2 separate regions of the Homo sapiens genome follow, and region 1 is linked to region 2. The links are contacts of gene promoters, found by promoter capture Hi-C in human tissues and cell types (Jung and others, 2019). All regions are on one chromosome and are shown on one strand. The core of a region is centred on a gene start or on the middle of the fragment in contact, and the rest is flanking DNA. Distances in the headings are between cores, read along the strand shown. Region 1 overlaps GNB5 (G protein subunit beta 5). Region 2 holds the start of DMXL2 (Dmx like 2).

Region 1 (5,136 bases), core at 415-2,914, 560 kb before region 2:
GGCGGGGCCGCGGGGCGGTGCTCGGGGCCGGGGACGGCTGCTGGAGCGGCGCCCGCCGCGGCTCAGCGCATTCCCGCTCTCCGCTTCCCTCTCCGCTGCGTCCCCGCGCGAAGATGGCAACCGAGGGGCTGCACGAGAACGAGACGCTGGCGTCGCTGAAGAGCGAGGCCGAGAGCCTCAAGGGCAAGCTGGAGGAGGAGCGAGCCAAGCTGCACGATGTGGAGCGTGAGTGCGGGCCGGGAGGCGGGCGGGGCAAGCCGGACCGGCTCGCCACTTCCCGGGCGGGGACGGCGGGGGCGGTGGGGGCGGTCGTGGCTGCGACGGGAGCCAGGCCCGCGCCACCGCCCGGGAGCAGGGCCCTGGGGCCCGGGCGCGCAGGTGAGGCGCGGGTAGCGGTCCCGATCCCCGGGACGCGCGGCGGTGGGGCCCTCGGAGGGTCCGGGCACCTGGCCGACCCCCGCCGCCAGCTAGCGGAGGACCGCGGGACTAGCTATCCTCATCACCTGCCTGGAAGCTGCGAACGGATCGCGTTCTTGCCCCTCCCATGCGGAGGGCAGGGGGTGGGGTGTCGGTGGTGACGAGCGAGCGCGGCGAGCCCGTGTAGGCGCGGCCTAGGAGAGACTCCTGTTTTGTTTTTTAATGCCCGTCTGGCTTTCTCCATCACTGTTGTATCTTTTCTCAGTTTTGCTTTTATGAGACTGCAATTTCAAAGCTCATTTTTCCAACCTCTCCCCTATCCTTGGGGCGGGGAGCTGGATGACGGAGAGAGAAGGGAAACGGAGGAGCTCACTAAATTCAACCGTTCAGTTCGTTTAAGGCTGTTTAAAAAGCTTTTGGATCGATGTGGTGGATTGGCATAAAAAAGCCATAGCGATCTTAAACTTGCATTCTTCACCACCACCACCGTAATTCAGAACTGGCTCTGTGATTTTTATGAGTGAGCGATTAAATAGCCAGGTTCAGCGGCTCTTGGCCAAAACAGCGTTCCTTTACTTTGTCAGAGGGCTCCTCCTCAGCAGAGCTTGGGCTGGGGGCCAGGCTTGGGGAAGTGGTTGTATCTGCTCACTTTTGAGCTCTGAGGGTGGCATCTCCCCTTTGCTGAGCACCTCCCACGGTGCCCTCCTGCACACCTTGACGTTGTTCTCCTGCCATTCCTAATCGATGCCACCCTTTACATTCTATGTGGAATGGAAAAATGGGGTTCGTGCTAGGGCCTTTACCTTTTGATCTCTGAAGATCACTTAAGAGAAGTGGATGACCTGGATCTAGCGTGTGCTGTGCTTTCCTAGGGGTCTTCTTTAAATAGGAGGCACTCTAAGCTTAGAAATCCTGTCCAGCAATCACTAACTGTAAACCCCAAATAATGTAGTTATGCAAATTGAGAGTTACTTTTCTTACATAACAAGAGCAAAGGTGGATGATCACCTGCTGTTGTTCAGCTGCACCATGCACCCCCCACCAAGGGACCCAGGCTCCTTCTGCCTTTCTTCTCCACACCTTAGAGCAGTGGCATTTGCCCCATGATTATAATATGATTGCCACAGCTCCAAACATCACTTCTGTATCCAAGGCAGGAAGAAGGGGGAATATGGACACCAATCTCTCTTTGCTCCCTATCAAGAAAGCAAAGCAAAAGTTTTCCCAGAAATCCTTCTCCCAGTTTGAGACCAGCCTGGCCAACATGGTGAAAAGTATTCATAGGTCATCTAATTTCTCCATTTGACAGATGAGGAAACTGAGGCACAAAGAATTAAAGGACTTACCGAAGGTCCCCTGCTAAGTGTTGGGACCCGGATTCCCCCCAGGCAATCAGAGTGCCAGCTCAGGCTCACTTCAGATTATTTTCGCCAAACCCGTTTTGAGCTTCATGCAGAGGGCGTTCTCCAGAAACTCACTTATTCAATAGTGCAGGCTGCATGCCTGGATATTTTCAGGTTTTCTGTGAATTTGTAAGTTGCCTTAAGACAGAGAGCAGAGATGCAGCTTTTCAAAGGGAACCTCAGGGGGCAAATGTAGTCAATCCAAAAGAAGAAACTTTTTTTTGTCCTGCCAAGAGTGTGGTGCCCTCAAAAGCTAGGGCCAGATTTTAGACCCACAGTGGAAGGGTCTATCCCTACCTGCATATGTCAGAATTTGTGAGCTGGAAAGACCAGAAGTCATGTGGTTGTGTCCCTCTTGATTCCCCTGCAGCTTCCAGACCACTTCTCTTCTACCCCGCATAAAGCCTTTGCTTCTTGAAGGTTCTTATCACTGTATTGACCTCTTCCCCTTTGACATGTCTCCTGATCTCCCAGCCAGGTTCTCTCATTTCTCTACTTTTCTTTTCTTTTTTTTTTTTTTTTGACACGGAGTCTCCCTCTGTCACCCAGGCTGGAGTACAATGGCACAGTCTTGGCTTACTGCAACCTCCACCTCCCAGGTTCAAGTGTTTCTCCTGCCTCAGCCTCCCAAGTAGCTGGGACTATAGGCATGTGCCACCACACCCAAGTAATTTTTGTATTTTTAGTAGGCTTCACCATGTTGGCCAGGCTGGTCTCGAACTCCTGACCTCAAGTGATCTGCCCGCCTGAGCCTCCAAAAGTACTGGGATTACAGGTGTGAGCCACCGCACTCAGCCATTCTTTTCTTTATTCATCTTTATTTTTAAGAGACAGGGTCTCGGACCGACAGGGTGGCTCACGCCTGTAATCCCAGCACTTTGGGAGGCCAAGGCGGGTGGATCATGAGGTCAGGAGATTGAGACCATCCTGGCCAACATGGTGAAACCCCGTCTCTACTAAAAATACAAAAATTAGTTGGGCATGGTGGCAGGTGCCTGTAATCTCAGCTACTTGGGAGGCTGAGGCAGGAGAATAGCTTAAACCAGGGAGTTGGAGGTTGCAGTGAGCCGAGATCTTGCCACTGCACTCCAGCCTGGGCGACAGAGCGAGACTCCGTCTCAAAAAAAAAAAAAAAAAAAAAAAAGGAGGAGCTAGGCAGAGGCCCCAGGAGGGGGTGTGTTTGGTGTATCTGATGTATCTGAGGAAGAGTGAGGAGGCAGGTGTGTCTGGAGGGGAGTATGCAGGGCAGAGTCCAGCTGCAGGTTATGCTGGGAGCTCATGCAGGACCCCATGGGTGCAGTGAAGATTTGGGCTCTTACTCCCAGTGAGTTGGGAAACCCTTGGAGGGTTTTGAGAGAGAGGATGGATCTGATTGCTTTACTGGGCTCACTCTGCCTGCCATGTTTTGTGGCAGAACAAGACAGCTTGAGGGAGGGAAATGAAGTGTGAGAGGTAAGTGACCTGGGGTAAGAGTTCTTGACAAATGTCTCTTTCCCTCTTATCAGAGAGCCTACCTTGCGTGCCACTTGCCAGCTCCTAATGGAAGTTACAGCTGAAGGTGGAAGAGCGAGAGATGATTTCTGAGCTTGTCTTGGTCCCATAGTTGACCCTGCAGCCGCTCTTACCTTACCCCAGCCCAGACTCGCCCAGCTCCTTCCTAAGTGTGTTTGTCCCTTGGCACTCAGGTGGGAAAGGGAGGAAAGGATGCTGATGAGTTTTACTTGTGGAAGTATAAGCTAGAGCCCTGCCAGGTGCAAACAACAGTGCTGTCATTTTTCCCTGTATGAAGGAAAGTGGTATCATCCCCATCTGTGCGATGAGCGAGCAGGCTTAGCAAAGTCGAATAATTCCTTCAGGGTCATGCAGCTGGTTAGTGATTGGGCCAGGATTCAGTTTAGGAATGATGCAGCTTTCTTTGCAGGGCTCCCCATTGAGCAAGTGGCTGAGAGCCTGGGGGAAGGTGGGAAGGGTCTGGTGAGGCTGGGGAGGACCATAAACTGAATCTGTTCACTCCCCAGAGCAGGGGCTGGCAGCATGCACTTTCCTGTATCTCTTATGGTGACTGGCAGCCCCTTAGTTAACAGATGTTTTTGTTTGTTTGTTTGTTTTGTTTTGTTTTTTTTTGAGATGGAGTCTGGCTCTGTTGCCCAGGCTGGAGTGCAATGGCATGATCTCAGCTCGCTACAACCTCCACCTCCTGGGTTCAAGCAGTTCTCCTGCCTCAGCCTCCTGAGTAGCTGGGATTACAGGCACATGCCATCACACCTGGCTAATTTTTGTATTTTTAGTAGAGACAGAGTTTCACTGTGTTAACCAGGCTGGTCTCGAACTCCTGACCTTGTGATCCGTCCACCTTGGCCTCCCAAAGTGCTGGGATTACAGGTGTGACCCACTGCGCCTGGCCGTTTTTTGTTTGTTTGTTTGTTTGTTTTTTGAGACGGAGTCTCACTCTGTCGCCCAGGCTAGAGTCCAGTGGCACAATCTCAGCTCACTGTAAGTTCCACCACCCAGGTTCAAGCGATTCTCCTGCCTCAGCCTCCCAAGTAGCTGAGACTACAGGCATGTGCCACCATGCCTGGCTAATTTTTGTATTTTTAGTGGAGACCGGGTTTCACCATGTTGGACGGGCTGTTCTTGAACTCCTGACCTCAGGTGATCTGCCCGCCTCAGCCTCCCAAAGTGCTGGGATTACAGGCGTGAGCTAATGTGCCTGGCCTGACAGATTTGTTTCTGACACACACAGGCCTTGTTTCTTGCCCAGCTGAGATTCCCAGCCCCTGCTTCGTGATGACCTCTGCAGATATTTCCCATTTTGGAATCCAAGGATGGTTTCCTGTGAATTGGGAATGTGTGGCCAGACACATGAGTTTTATAGTACCAAATTAGGGTATGCGGCTGACACCAGAGGGGTATGGTTTATTCCCCAGAGCAACATGTGTTAGATGCCTGTACATTTTTGCATTTTAGTGTTGCTATATAGGTGGCCCAGTAGCCTCTGCCCTAGTCAGGGAGACCCCTTTAGGCTATCAGCTAAGGTAATCAACTCATCCCAGTTTGCCTGGGACCCTAGGTATGTGTGTTTGTTTGTTTGTTTGTTTTTGAGACAGAGTCTTGCTCTGTTACCCAGGCTGGAGTGCGGTGGCACGATCTCGGCTCGCTGCAACCTCCGCATTCCAGGTTCAAGCAATTCTCCTCCCTCGGCCCCACTAGTAGCAGGCACACACCATCTCGCCCAGCTAATTTTTGTATTTTTAGGAGAGATGGGGTTTTGCTATGTTGGCCAAGCTGGTCTCGAACTCCTGACTTTAGGTGATCC
Region 2 (5,295 bases), core at 1,699-4,198:
GAGAGGAACACATAGGAACTGAGGCCTCCATCTATCTATTAGGCTCAACTTGCTAGCCATGAGAGCCTGCCATCTTGGAAGCAGGGCCTTTAACTTCAGTCAAGACTTCAGATGACTGTATCCCTGGCTATTTCTTTTTTAGATAGCTTTATTGAAAGTATAATTTAATTACCATACAATTCACTAATTTCAAGTATACAATTCAATGATTTCTAGTAATTTTACAGAACTGCCCAACCATGACCACAATCTAATTTTAGAATGTTTATCTCATGCCAAAAAGAAACCTCATATCCATTAGCAGTCACTCTCAGTTCCACCTTCAGCCCCAGGCAACCACTAACCTATTTTCTGTGACTGTAGATTTGTCTTTTCAGAAAATTTCATACAAATGATTTCATACAAACGAATTATGTGGTCTTTTGTGTCCAGCTTCTTTTATTTAGCATGTAGCTGACATTTTGATTGCCATCTCATGAAAGACTCTGAACCAGAACTTTCCTGCTAAGCTACTACTAAATTATTGATTCACAGAAACTGTGAGGTAATGAATCTCTACTGTTATTTTTGGCTGATAAATTTTGGGGTAATTTATTGCACAGTAATTGATAACTAGTACACATCGGTAGGTGATACTGCTGGGAAACTAAGTCCCACATTTAATGGCACACATTCAATGGGCCATTAAACCCAACCCCAAAGGTACTATTAAGAGTTGTGTTGGGATCTCAAATCAAAGCAAAAAGAAAAAAAAAAGAGTTGTGGACATGATAAATTATATCTTACAATTCGATTAGCATATTTTGTTAATGATACAAAACTGCTACTTTTTCTAATTTTTAAAAGAAAGCCCTTTCCAAAATTAGAAGAAAGAATTTCCAATTTGTTTTTAGGTCCATGAAAAAATTTGCATGAACAAGGAAGAGATGAAATTGTGGACAGTCAAAAGTGTGGTCTAGCTGCCCTGGTGGGCTACCAAGGAAACTTGCCATATTAGTCTGGAGTGAGTTTTGACTGATCAGATTGGACAATAAAAGGCTCAGCTGTAATTCCAGGAGACTTAATTAGTCATTTGCAACCTTAAGATACAGCTATCAAGAAGCCATTTAAAGGATTCATGAGGGAAGAGAACAGGTGGATACAGGCTTCAGATTTTGAGTTTGATACCGAGAGGAAGAAAGAGGCTCACAACTTCACAACTGTGTGAATGGGCCAAAACTTCATGGAATGCTGTAAAACAAGAGCCAAATGTGAAATGGTTTAAATAATGTGAATTAGTAACACTCTTGGAAACCTGAGTACAATTTGTTGTTTGATGATAGTTTTGACTTGGTTTCTAATGCAGTGAAGGTCAAAGATTAAGAGACTCATCTAGAATCTAGTAGTAACAAAAAGGAACCCTTGGATATGGCGCGGGGGAAGGGAGGAAGGGGGGGGGAGGGAAGGGGAGGGAGGGGGGAGAGAGAGAAAGAGAGAGAATGCCGCAGGTCATTAGGTATTATTTTTCATTCCTCCTGCAACTTTCTACTGAAAAGATTACCAACGACTGACAGATCTTTGCCTCCAATCTTCCCCACCCTTCCCTTTATGCTTCAAAATGCTACAAAGTCATCTTCCCAAAGCAGCTCTGATTATATAAATTTTTGCTCAGAAACATCTGATATACCCCCACTGCATGCAGAGTGAAATCTGGGCTTCTTGGAGCATTCAAGACTCTCCATAATATGTTTTGGTAGGCCAAGAGTTAGACCACTTGGATACCTTGATCTCTTGCTAAGTATTATTTACTTTCCCTACCCTATAAATCATCTGCCTCAAACATTAATCTTTGTACCTTCAACACCCCCTCTATTTTCTGTACTGTATTTGCAGCATTTCTTGTCTATCTCAGCCTGTCAAAATTAAACTCAGCGTTTATGTCAGGTTATGTCTCCATAATGCCTTATCCACGCCCTTAGTCAACATTCTTCTTCCTCTTCTGTGGTGCATAAAGACTTTTATATCTCAATCACACCACCTTTGGCGTTCTGCCTGGTTTTACAGATAGTTATGTCTTGGTGTCCCCTACTTCCTTACCCTGTGATTTAAGCATAGTATGGGTTAGAACATTTGCCATGAATTGGCCTGTGGCAGGGAGCTGATGATCCTTGTTATCAACCATTCAAAGTTTAGCAGATAGTTTGGAAAATCAGGCGATTCTGCTAATTCATGAAATTACTCATGAAAAAAAGTCGAAAGGAGTCACCCGTCTCTAAGGCGGCTTTTTGCTGTCTAGAATAACCGTGACAAAAGGTGGGAGCAAAATAATTAGCTTTCAGGGGAGTATGGCTTCTCTAAATAGTTGCAAGATGCCTACATTGTTTATGTAAAATAAAATATCTTATGTACTGCACTTTCGAAAAGACTGAAGATATCTAAGATATCTCCAGGTGGAAATTCCCGGTGACGGGTGTCCTTCTGAGGTCAACGGCACTGACCATTGCACACTGTATTCTGGAATACGTTCAACACAGCAAAACCGGCTCGTGGCGCGTCCCCGGCGTCCGACTGCTGCGTGGCCCCGAGCGACCTGCACCCCACTCGCCCCCGCCCCCACCTCCGCCCCAGTCCGCAGCGGCTACAGCCCGGGAGGCTCCAAGGGAACTCCCGCACGTCTGCGCGCGCAATCACGGGACGGCGGGTCGGCGTGGCGCGCGCAATTGCCCTGGAAACCACGGCGCGCGCACGCGCAAACGCGGGTGATGGGGGGAAGAAAGACTGAGCTGAGAGCTTTGCCGCGGGGGGAGGGCTCTACCTCGCTCCCCCGCGGTGGGCGCGCGCGCTGGCCCGCTCCCTTGCTGCACGCTCCCGGCTCGCGCGTTCCCCCCGGTGCCCTCCCCCGCCTCACAAGCACCCTTGCCCTCCCGCATTTGTGCGCCGGTGCAGCAGGCAGTGGGAACATCCGGGCATTTCCGCAGCTGAGCGGCGACCCGGGCGGCGGCGGCGGTCGAGGAGCTCCCATGGCAGGGACGAGGCGGAGGGAAGGCGAAAGGGGGGCGAGGAGTTAAGCCAGAGCCTCCGCGGGGCGGGTTTCCGAGGGAGGCACAGAGGGAAACGGCTCTCGCAGCCCGAGGAGGGTCAGGCGCGGAGCTTGTCGCACCTCCCGCGCATTCTGTCCAGCCCGGGCTCCGGAGATGCATCTGCATCAGGTCCTCACCGGAGCTGTCAACCCTGGAGACAACTGCTACTCCGTGGGCAGCGTCGGGGATGTCCCCTTCACGGTGAGCGGCGGCCGGGAGCCCTAGGGGAAGATACCAGGGGCCAGACGCGGGGGCAGGGACCTCCTGTCCAGGGCGCACGCCTCCTCAGGAGGCTGTGAGATGTTGGTGGGCCCCACCCGTGGCCCCTTTGCAGCCTTGGGGTTTAGTTCCCCCTGGGACCCGTGGGACCGTGGGTCCTGCGTCTGGTGTAGGAAATCACCCGTTAGGGGAAAGGCTTAGGAATCCACCGCACTCTCCACCCCAAGCAAACGGGCCTGAGGTGACTGGACTAGAAGGCTCCTCCTAGGGCGGCCCTTCGGTCTGCGGTGGAGGAAAGTGGTGGTGCGGCTGAAACCCCAGAGCGTCCGTTTCGCAGCTGCTCTCGGCGTGGAGGCGAAGAGACTTGGTGTTGGTCTCGGAGCGTGGAGGTGAAGAGACTTGGTGTTGGTCTCGGAGCGTGGAGGCGATGCTGCGCCTTGGCTCCCCCTGCCCGCTGTGCTAGGGCAGCGAGGAGCTGCTGGAGTCTGTGGCTTTAAGCCTGACTCTGTATCTCCTGATAATGCAGGATCTTAATTCCAACAAAAAGATAGAAAAATTCATCCTCCGCGCCCGAAAGATTTAGAATGGAAAGGTTAGAGTCACAGTGGCTTGGAGAGCTGTCTCATTTATCAGGAGGTCGTAGTTTGGTAATCCTCCTAGATAATATTTTAATCTGTAAGGTAGCCTTTTTTTTAATATAGTAAGGCAATGTGAAAAATTTACAACAGTGCTTGTTTGAGAAAAGTGTATGTATACATAACGTTTTAGAATCTCCTTAAAAGCTAGATGAAGTAGACATGTTTCTCAAGGAGATTGGACTCATCAGTCCTTTTTGAGAGTGGAAATGTTTAAACCAAGCCTTGGAGCTTCGTTTACTCATAGATAGACTCCCATAAATTGAGTTCTTTTTTAAAGAATGAAATTTATACATGGTCTTCCTTATAAGGAACTGTAGGCAGCCAGACCTTTATTAAATATATTTTGTAAACTGTTCTTCTTGATAAAACTGGAAATTCCGTAATGGTATGCTTTTTAGACAAGGAAAACCCTTTGATGTCTGCTTTCCAACAGTGTTTTTAAAACTGCGGAAAATAAAGCTTCAGCAAAACTGCAGAATCATTATGTAGCAGTGCATTCTGGAACAGAATTTATTTTTTGACGTTTTGTGATACATTAACCCCAGAAGATTGCTTTTTAGCCATTTTAATTTTTTAGTGTAATCCACTTGGCCTAGCTCCAGTTTAGAACGACCCCTTTTGTCATCTGTGTTTTATGTACATGTGACTTAAAATATTCATATAGAGCTGAGCTTTGTCTTCAAGTGTGTGGAGAATCTTGGTTTTTGGGGATAGAGAGAAGAAATTTCCCTGTTCCCCAGTAGTGCAGATAGGAAGTTCCTCAGGGTTAGAAGAGTGGGCCTCTTTCATCAAGAAACAAAGCTGGAATCTTTGGTTATATTTTCCTGCTAGAATGGTGGTGGTAGTTTTCTGCTTCCATCTAAAGTGGAGTGCTGTCTCACGGCAGGTCTGGTATGTAGAACTAAATAAACGGGTTCAGATGCAGCCTGGAAAAGCCTGTGTAAGAACTGTTAGTGCTGTGCAGGTGTGGTTATGCTGTAGGCCACTTGTGACCAGATGCTTAGAGTCATTTTCAAATCTTCTTGCACTTCCCTAATTCAGCGTTTCACGAAGTCTAGTTGACTCTGCACTGTCTACCAGATTTACTCCTTTTCATATCCTTAACCACCACCTTATTTTACAATCTTATTGGTATTAATATAAAAGCTTTCAAAACTGTCATGTCCGATAACTTCTTCATCCTCCACACCGCTGCTAGGATAATTTTCTTCAAGTGTCATTTTACTATATTACTCTTGGCTTAAGAATATGTAATTGTTTTTAATAGCTGTGTTAGGAAATGTAAACTTGTCAAGTATTCTCCATCTTTGACTTTATTTTTAATTATATGTACTCCTCACTTTGGCCCCTCTGTTACATACTGATCTTCTTACTCTAAA

The links. The method cuts DNA at HindIII sites, captures the fragments that hold promoters and counts their contacts. A contact is called where the count stands out against the background at its distance.
Region 1: a fragment that was not itself captured here is called in contact with the fragment with the promoter of DMXL2 in region 2 in 1 of the 25 tissues and cell types used here (lymphoblastoid cells).

The regions. Positions count from the first base shown.
Region 1 is chr15:52,174,857-52,179,992 of GRCh38, reverse strand. GNB5 (G protein subunit beta 5) reads left to right here. Exons shown (of 13, transcript NM_016194.4): 3 at 114-225. Among named protein-coding and RNA genes, the nearest start is that of CERNA1, 2.6 kb to the left of the region's middle. RefSeq lists a silencer at 1-556. The HindIII fragment of the contact is 3,781 bases long and covers 1-3,554 here.
Region 2 is chr15:51,620,424-51,625,718 of GRCh38, reverse strand. DMXL2 (Dmx like 2) reads left to right here and starts at 2,948. Exons shown (of 44, transcript NM_001378457.1): 1 at 2,948-3,260. The coding sequence starts at 3,174. It overlaps LOC105370816 (a long non-coding RNA gene), which reads left to right. Exons shown (of 5, transcript XR_932236.3): 4 at 433-544; 5 at 894-1,035. RefSeq lists a silencer at 2,811-3,030 and an enhancer at 3,401-3,810. The HindIII fragment of the contact is 6,819 bases long and covers 1-4,719 here.